Linked DNA regions of Homo sapiens: region 1 is linked to region 2. Evidence: promoter capture Hi-C in human tissues and cell types (Jung and others, 2019). All regions are on one chromosome and are shown on one strand. Each heading gives the region's core, a stretch centred on a gene start or on the middle of the fragment in contact. The rest is flanking DNA. Distances are from core to core; before and after follow the strand shown. Region 1 overlaps ANKS1B (ankyrin repeat and sterile alpha motif domain containing 1B). Region 2 holds the start of ANKS1B (ankyrin repeat and sterile alpha motif domain containing 1B).

Region 1 (4,023 bases), core at 1,102-3,601, 49 kb before region 2:
CATATAGTTTTTCTCAGTATCTAATGAAATGATCATATAGTTTTTGTCCTTCATTCTGTTGATATGATGTATCACAGTGATTGATCTGTGCATGTTGAACCATCCTTACCTCCCTGGGATAAATCCCACTTGGTCATGATAAATGATCTTTTTGATGTGTTGTTAGATTTGGCTTGCTAGTGTTTTGTTGAGGATTTCTGCATCAATGTTCATCAGTAATACTGGCCTGTAGTTTTCTTTTTTTGATGTATCTTTGTCTGGTTTTGGTATCAAGGTAATACTGACCTTGCAGAATGAACCTGGAAGGAGAAACTACTTCCATTTTTCAGAATAGTTTGAGTAGAGCTGGTATTAATTTTTCTTTAAATGTTTGGTAAAATTTAGCAGTGAAGTCATTGGATCCTCGGCTTCTCTTTGCTGGGAGACTTTTTATTACAGCTCAGTCTTGTCAGTTGTTATTGGTCTGTTCAAGTTTTGGATTTCTTCATGGTTAAATCTTGGTAGGGTATGTGATTAGGAATTTATCCATTTCTTCTAACTATTCCAATTTTTTTGGTATATAGCTGCTCACACTAGTCTCTAATGATCTTTTGAATTTCTGCAGTATACATCATAATGTCTGTTTTTTCATCTCTGATTTTACTGGATCTTCTCTTTTTCTTAGTCTGGCTAAAGGTTTCCCAATTTTGTTTATCTTTCGAAAACCAACTTGGTGAAAAAGATTAAATTCAGTAGGTCTTAAATACTTTGGTACTTTAGGAGATTAATACAAAAAAGAAAAAAAGACATGGATTCTTCAAACATCTCACAATGAAGAGAGGATAAACACATTAATTTTGTATATAAAGGAGGGAGGAGATATGTACATAAATGCTTGTCTAAGTATAGAATCTCTACAGAAGGATATGTGAAAACCAAAAAGAATGATTGCCTTTGGGTCAGAGGACTGGGGGACTGGTGATCTGGGATAAGAGCACTTAATTTTCATTATATACTATTTCCCACTGTTGGAATATTTGAATGTATATACAGTCCTTTCTATTCCGATAAATAAATTAAAAAGCATAAACCATATATAAAATAACTTTTACAAAACAAAGTTAAACGTAAGAGATATAAATTACACTTGATATTCAAAGGATAGAAAGATCCTATTCACCTACAGAAGCAGAGTAAGTACCAATAAGGGGGTGGTCCATGAGATGGATGGGTAGAATAGATATATAACAAAAATCATTCCAGGGAAGAGAACACCTGACTATAGCCACAAAGTTGGGAAGGGATGGGGCGTGTTTAGAAAAGTGATAGTTTAGAAGCTTAGGCTGCATATAAGGATGTGTTCTTTTTCTGTAGATGCCTGACAAAAAAAAAAAAAAACTATACAGTTAGCATCTTAAAGAACGCACATTTACCATCTCACAGGTTTTGTGGTCAGGAGTCTGAATTAGCTAGGTCCTCTACACAGGGTCTCACAGGCTGAAATCAAAATGTCCACCAAGACTATGGTTTCCTCTTAAGCATAGGGCCCTCTTTTAACATCACTGGTTGCTGACATAATTCATTTCCCTGCAGTTTTAAGACAGACACTCACCCATTTTCTTGCTGTCAGTCAGGAGCCACTCTCAACTTCTAGATGCCACCAGCGATTCCCTGCCTAGTAGTCCCTCAATAAGCCCTCTAATGCTCCCAAGATTTGAATCTTTCTAACTTCAGAGAAAACCCAATCCCTTTTAAAGGCTCACTTGATTAGATCAGGCCCACCCAGATAATGGCCCTCTTAACTGACTTAAAGTCAACTGATTAGTGACCTCATCACAAGTGACTCTACAGGATGTGTACCCTATAGGATGACGTATTAGTCCATTCTCACATTGCTATAAGGAAATACCTGACACTGGATAATTTATAAAGAAAAGAAGTTTAATTGACTCACAGTTCCGCATGGCTGAGGCCTCAGGAAACTTACAATCATGGCAGAAGGCACCTCCTCACAGGGCAGCAGGAGAAAGAATGAGTGCAAGCAGGGGAAATGCCAGATGTTTATAAAATGATCAGATTTTGCGAGACTCACTATCACAAGAACAGCATGGGGGAAACCAACCCCATGATCTGATTACCTCCACCTGGTCCTGCCCTGGATGTATGGGGATTATGAGGATTACAATCCAAGGTGAGATTTGGGTGGGGACATGGAGCCAAACCATATCAGGTGAGAATCTTGGGAGCCATCCTAGAATTCTGCCAAGCATAGCTGGTAACAGAAGATGAGAACAAAAATTCTCAAAAGCTAAGCCAAAATTAAATAGTTTTCCATCCTATATTTCTGTCTCCAAACGTTATGCTACTTGTAAAATACACAGGGATAATTAGGCCAGGCACAGTGGCTCACACCTGTAATCCCAGCACTTTGGGAGGTCAAGATGGGAGGATCACTTGAGGCCAGGAGTTCAGGACCAGCCTGGCCAATATGGCAAGACCCCATCTCTTAAAAAAATGGATAATTACAGTTGCAACTGAGAAACCTCCCATATTTGGTAACTGTCTACTCTTTGGCTATTTGTGGTACTCATTTATTATAAGGCCTATGTTACTGACTGGGAATATCTACTTCTCCCTTCGCAGTCTTTTATTCAATATAAACCATTCCTACCTCTGTTTGCTGTACTCTTGGCTGCCTTGTCTGTTACTGTTAGATTAATATTTAACTTACTAAGGTCCTCCTCACTCCACAAAGACCTAGCCTCTTTATTACTTTTTTCCCGCTATTTTCAGCCATTACTTTTGTGACCTTGCATAAATTCACACTAGAAAAGTGTAAGTATTCAATGGTTATATAGCTTCCAACTTTGTTTTTGCAGTTTTATAACCTTATTTGATGTATTCAATGATCAGTAGTTTGTTCTCATCTACACTGAATGACTATAGATTTTTTAAAGTGGAAACAGGTACATAGGTAACCAAAGTATACAGCTTGCTTGGGAACCTTCATCCTCATTATGTTTCTGGACAACCACATATGGATACAGTATGGGACATCCCTTAACCTTAGGCCTAGTCAGCTTTGTTGAACCTGTTATCAATACGCACATCTGGAGTTCCCATCTCCTTCATGATGGCAAATTTCTGGATCTCTCTGAGTGCCCCAGGGGCATGCTTCTTGAAGCCCACTCATGGATGTGCTTCTGAGTGTTGATGGTGTATTCTTGTGTCACCACCTCATTGACAGCAGGAGAGCCCTTCTTCTTCCCACCCTTCTCTGCAGGGGCCATTCTGCCAGGCCAAAGTTGGAAAGTAACCTCCATCTTAACTACCCAAGAAAGAAGAAAAACAAACAGCATAGCTTTGGTGTAAGCAAAATGTCAATTCTACAGCTACATGGTCAATAAGTATACACATAATTAATATTTCTACAATGTTGAATATGATTATTTAGGAAAACAAGTCTCAGAGTTAGAAATACCCACTTCTCCTTTGATCTGGCAGCTTATATTCTTCTCACAGACAAAAATCAAAAGCCCTTGATAATTTTGCCTGCTGATTGGGAGGCAATGCTGATAGACAAAGAAGTAGAACACTATGAAAAGAAGGCCTCCTGATACAGTTGCTAGTCTTTCCTGACAACGTGGCATATGGTTCCAAATCTTCAAACAGCTATCATATTGCTACACTGATTTAACAAGGTGATCTGTATTCTCCCAAATTAAATACATGTAGAGCACTAGGATACCTTCTTCTGAGAAAAGGGGTATTTATTTTCTTTCTTTGATACTAGATTTATAGCATAACAGTTAAGCCTGCAAGTACCAACTGAGTTTCTACTAAGTGTAACACATTGTCTAGTAGGTGGGTGATGGTAGCAAAGAGAAGATACATGATAAATCAGTCATGAATCCTGCCCTCAAGTTATATATAATAAGTGAAAAGAAAATCCTGGGAGCAGAATCGACCCAATTTTCCTTTCTCTTCTGATGTCAGGTGGGCTCTGAACACAATCCTCATAATCCCCATTTCCTAGTTTCCATG
Region 2 (4,445 bases), core at 515-3,014:
ATAGCCACGATTTTAGAAACTAAAGAGCTTCCCTTGAATTGTATCTAGTGAATACTCTCCAGGCTTCCTCCCTCCCAGTTGATTTCATTTGTCCATCAATACAACTTTTAATAGTTTCTCAAGTATGGAAATCAACCCCGCTATTTCCAAGGTACTGCTGAATGAAGACCTTGACATTTTTTTTAAATGTCATCTTAGAAAGATTCTCCAAGCAATACCAGTCTCACCTACGACATCTTCACGTTAAAAGGCCTCTACCGTACTCCATATACAGTATCCCAATACCAACCTGGCATCCTTCATCCTGAGCTATAACAACCAAGTTTCACTCAGCTATGTCCAGGTAACTGAAAGTATTGCTGGGGCTGCCTAACCTGCCCCATCAAGTTTTATACACACCCTGTGCTGAAGACATCTCACCAGAAAGAAGGTTCACTCACTTCATTTTGTGGGATCATAACCCACGGCACAGCAAACGCCTTCTGCAAGAGAAGGTAGGAGCCACCGAAGGCTGTGGCTTTTGCAGGGTAATTGCATGCACGCAAGAGATTCTCTGCCAATTTCATTTAACTAGACAAAAAAGGCTGCGTTCAAAGCTGCAAATATGTAATAAATGTTGATGGAAAGCGGGCGGAACGTCGATTTTCTTCAAGCAACACTAGTACATGTACAAGTTCTGCACCAGGGCTCAGAGGAAAAGTAGCTTACTGACGCATTGATGGAAGGCTATTTTAAAATTACTCAAAGAATCTAAGGCATCAATCTGACTGGGAGGCTCATACCTCCTCTCCATACACGCAGTCTGTTTTCCTACCTAATTTAAGAATGAATCGCTGGCAGCCACCAGGTGCAATAACCGTGAGGAGGAGGACGTATATCCATCACAATGCATAATGAGGTGTGCCAACCCCGGAGCTGGTGCCCGTCCTTACCTTAGCAGATTAGACAGGGGCAGGGGTCCGGATCCACCGCCCAGGATCCCTCCTTTCCTGCCAGACAGGAGTTTCTCCACCAGAGCCACATTTCCAGTGCGAGCAGCTTCCAGCAGCTCCTGGTCCTTCCCCATAGTCTCTCACCGACTCCCCCACAGAGTCCTTGCCCCCCTCGGGTCCTCCTCCCCACCCACCCCCACTCCCCAAAATCCAGGGCCCTCTTCGCCCCACCCTAAAATAATGCAAGAGCTTCAGCACGGAGAGCTCCCTGCAGCCCCAGGCAGGGAGCACGACTCTCTCCTCCTCTTCGGGGCGCAGCTTTTACAATGGGGATCAGACCATGTCTTGAAAGAGGGGCTGGCCGAGCTGGGAGCCGCGACGCGCCCCCACAGCCACTCCCCTGAATTCCCAAGGCCTCGTTCCCGCGGGTGCGGCGTGAGGGGGTGGGGACTCGGGGGTGCTTTTGAGGAGCGGGAGGAGGGTGGTGAGGACTGAGGTCGGAGGAGGAGGAGGAGGCGGCAGAGAGAGTCCTAGCTGGAGCGGGAGCGCAGGGAACACCCGCGGTGGCAGCAGCGGCCCGCGCGCCCTCGCGCCCGACCCGGGCTCGCCTCGGCTTCCTCGGCGGTTACGCGGGGGCGGCGTCCGCGGCGGGGAGGAGCGCGGCGGCGGCGGCGGCGGCTCGTGCGCTGTGGCCCGCGCCGAGGCAGGGCGGTGGGGGGCAGCCGCAGCGGGCGCGTGCCGAGGGCGGCGGCGGCGGCGAGGCCTGGCGCGCGGGGGGCGTGTGCGCGCGGGCAGGTGCGGCCCCTGGTGCGGCCCGAGTTGGGTGGCGGGCTGGCGGGGAGGGGCCGGGCCGGCTGAGGCGGGGCTTCGGCCCTGAGATTCTCTTCGTTCTCGTGGGCGGGGACCCTCCCTCCTCCACTCTCCTTGGAAGAGCGTTAACCGTGTGAGGACTGGAGTTCCCCGGGCCGCGTCGGCTCCTCCTCGGCCCGGCGGGCCCCGGCAACACGCCTCGGGTCTGTCACGACGCCTGAGGAAAATCCTCCGTGACAGGAATGGGGAGGCTGGTGACACTGGGGAGGGGCCCTTTGGCCACCGCTTCCATCAGAGTCTAGGCAACTTGACCGGCATTTCACCCTTCCGCTTTACCTCCCCAAGAGAGCCTGAGATCTGCCCTTGGTTAGAAAGAAGAGGCTCGTTTCGTCCTAGTTTCTGTGGCACTGGCCACCGAGCAGTTTGCGACTGTTTCAGTTTTTCTGGAGTCTTTAATCAGCCCATATTTTAGTTGGGCTTTGGAGATCTGCTGACTTGTAAGAATACCAGGAAAAAGGCTCTCATTGAAAATTTATCCACATCTACACTCGAAAAATATAAATGGGCATGGATTAGAGATCCACTTTAATTTGCATATATCATCAGCAATTCATTGTGCATGGTTGGCATGACTTGTTAGATGCTCTCCTTGGCCGTGGTGGAGAACGCGCGTTTATTTTCTATTAAAACTTCCTGTTACACCTTGTGCTTTGCATTGTCCTTGGAATAGACTTCATAAATGTTCACTTGTTGATAATTGATTGGTAAGAAGAGGACTTAATAGGCACTGTGCTTACAACAACCCAGTGAACTGGATATTATTATATCCATTTTAGAAATGAGGAAATAGGGCTCAAATGGTTAATTAAATTTCTCAAGATGCCACATGGAGTAAGTGGCTGACTCAGAACTAGACCCCAGAACAGACTCACTCCAGACACCATGTGCTTCCCAATATACGTTCCTGCCCCCCATGGAAAAGCGAAATGGACAGACAATAATTATTGCATGCATTTGATGAGTAGTTGCTACATACCAGACACTATGCTAAGTGCTTTCCATGTTCTCATTAAGCCTTGCAACAATCGCATGAGATAGGACCATTTTCATCTCTATTTTGGAGATGAAGAAACTGATTACCCGCAAGATAATAGGGATAGAAAGTAACTGAGCCAAGGCTCAAATCCGGCACTGTCTGCTGTAGGCAAAGATTTTCAATAAATAACTGGGGGAAACTTAAAAGGCATTTAGAGATAAATAACAAGAGTATATTAAAACATTTTTATGGAATTCATTGTGTTCTGAGATTTCATTTCAATGATTCAAAATATTAGGTAAATTATGGCTATTTATTGGAGGTTTCCTGAAGTATGTAGATTTTGGCTAGTGTAGTTTTTTAATTCATTTTGATTTTGTTTTCTGTGTTAGAATCTGTTTTAATAAGATAATCTATGTTATAATAATATAATCCCTGACATAATGGGACTAGCAGACCAATGAAAGAAACGAGATAAGGAGCCATCACATTCATTTTGAAAATGGCATAGGGAAATCCTTCTTCCTTTTTCCTAATGTTGCCACCTAAGCAAAACACACCTTTCCCAGAATATACTGTAAGTATTCAATTGGTCAGAACTGAAAATCACCCACAGTTTTCACAAGCAACATTTAATCATGGATGAGTTGGTGACCGCAGGCCCCGAGTCATCTTATCGAAATCATGCAGCCCCCACCCCCAATGGGAAAACCATTAGTAATGATTTACTCTAAGAATCAGTTCCACAGTTCGGGCATTCTACTGACATATGATAATCAAAGCCAATTTTTCAGCTTCAAACTCTTTGGTTTTAGTGACCTCATAACTTTGTTTTTCTGTAGACATTGCAGTGACTGCACCTCATAGTTTTTTGTTGAAGAGGATAAAGGCTTTGGCTACATGGGGACTAACATGCAAAATAAAAGTGAAAACATTCTTTTAAAAATCTACAGAGGCCAAAATAAATATCCAGATCTTTTAAACATCCAGATTTCATCAAGATGTTTTGCATCTGTGAATAGTGAAAAGAGTGATAGAATCTTGGGAACCAATTAGACAATCTCTATCTCAGTGTGTGCATAAGTAAAATGAAGAAGTTATGTCGGATGCCTTCCACTGGCCTTGCCAGCCATAATATTCTATGCCTGTGATGAAACGTGGTCTTAGTCCATTAAGTCATTTGCATCACTGAAGCTAGAAATTAAGTATGGAGATAGATTTGAGATTTCTATTCTGTTTTTATTTGATTTGATTTTCTGAGACAGAGTCTGACTCTGTTGCCAAGACTGGAGTGCAGTGGCACGATCTCAGCTCACTGCAACCTCTGCTCCCAGGTTCAAGTGATTCTCAAGCCTCAGCCTCCCCAGTAGCTGAGATTAGAGGCGCCCACCACCACGCCCGGCTAATTTTTGTATTTTTAGTAGAGACAGGATTTCACTATGTTGGTCAGGCTGGTCTCAAACTCCTGACCTCAAGTGATCCACCTGCCTCGGCCACCCTCTATTTTGTTTTTAATTATAAAATAAATATATATTTTTTCGGGTTTTTAAATCTATCTTTGCTATTCTCAATGGACAGTATTAATAATAGCAAATGTAGGCCGGGCATGGTGGCTCATGCCAGTAATCCCAGCACTTTTGGGAGGCCAAGGTGGGTGGATCATGAGG

Evidence for each region. The method cuts DNA at HindIII sites, captures the fragments that hold promoters and counts their contacts. A contact is called where the count stands out against the background at its distance.
Region 1: a contact is called between a fragment that was not itself captured here and the fragment with the promoter of ANKS1B in region 2, in 1 of the 25 tissues and cell types used here (small bowel).

What each region holds. Positions count from the first base shown.
Region 1 is chr12:99,933,996-99,938,018 of GRCh38, forward strand. The region is part of intron 1 of ANKS1B (ankyrin repeat and sterile alpha motif domain containing 1B); the gene reads right to left. Among named protein-coding and RNA genes, the nearest start is that of ANKS1B, 49 kb to the right of the region's middle. The HindIII fragment of the contact is 4,624 bases long and covers 40-4,023 here.
Region 2 is chr12:99,983,172-99,987,616 of GRCh38, forward strand. ANKS1B (ankyrin repeat and sterile alpha motif domain containing 1B) reads right to left here and starts at 1,765. Exons shown (of 27, transcript NM_001352186.2): 1 at 933-1,765. The coding sequence starts at 1,066. RefSeq lists an enhancer at 795-1,625 and a silencer at 1,738-1,787. The HindIII fragment of the contact is 20,528 bases long and covers 1-4,445 here.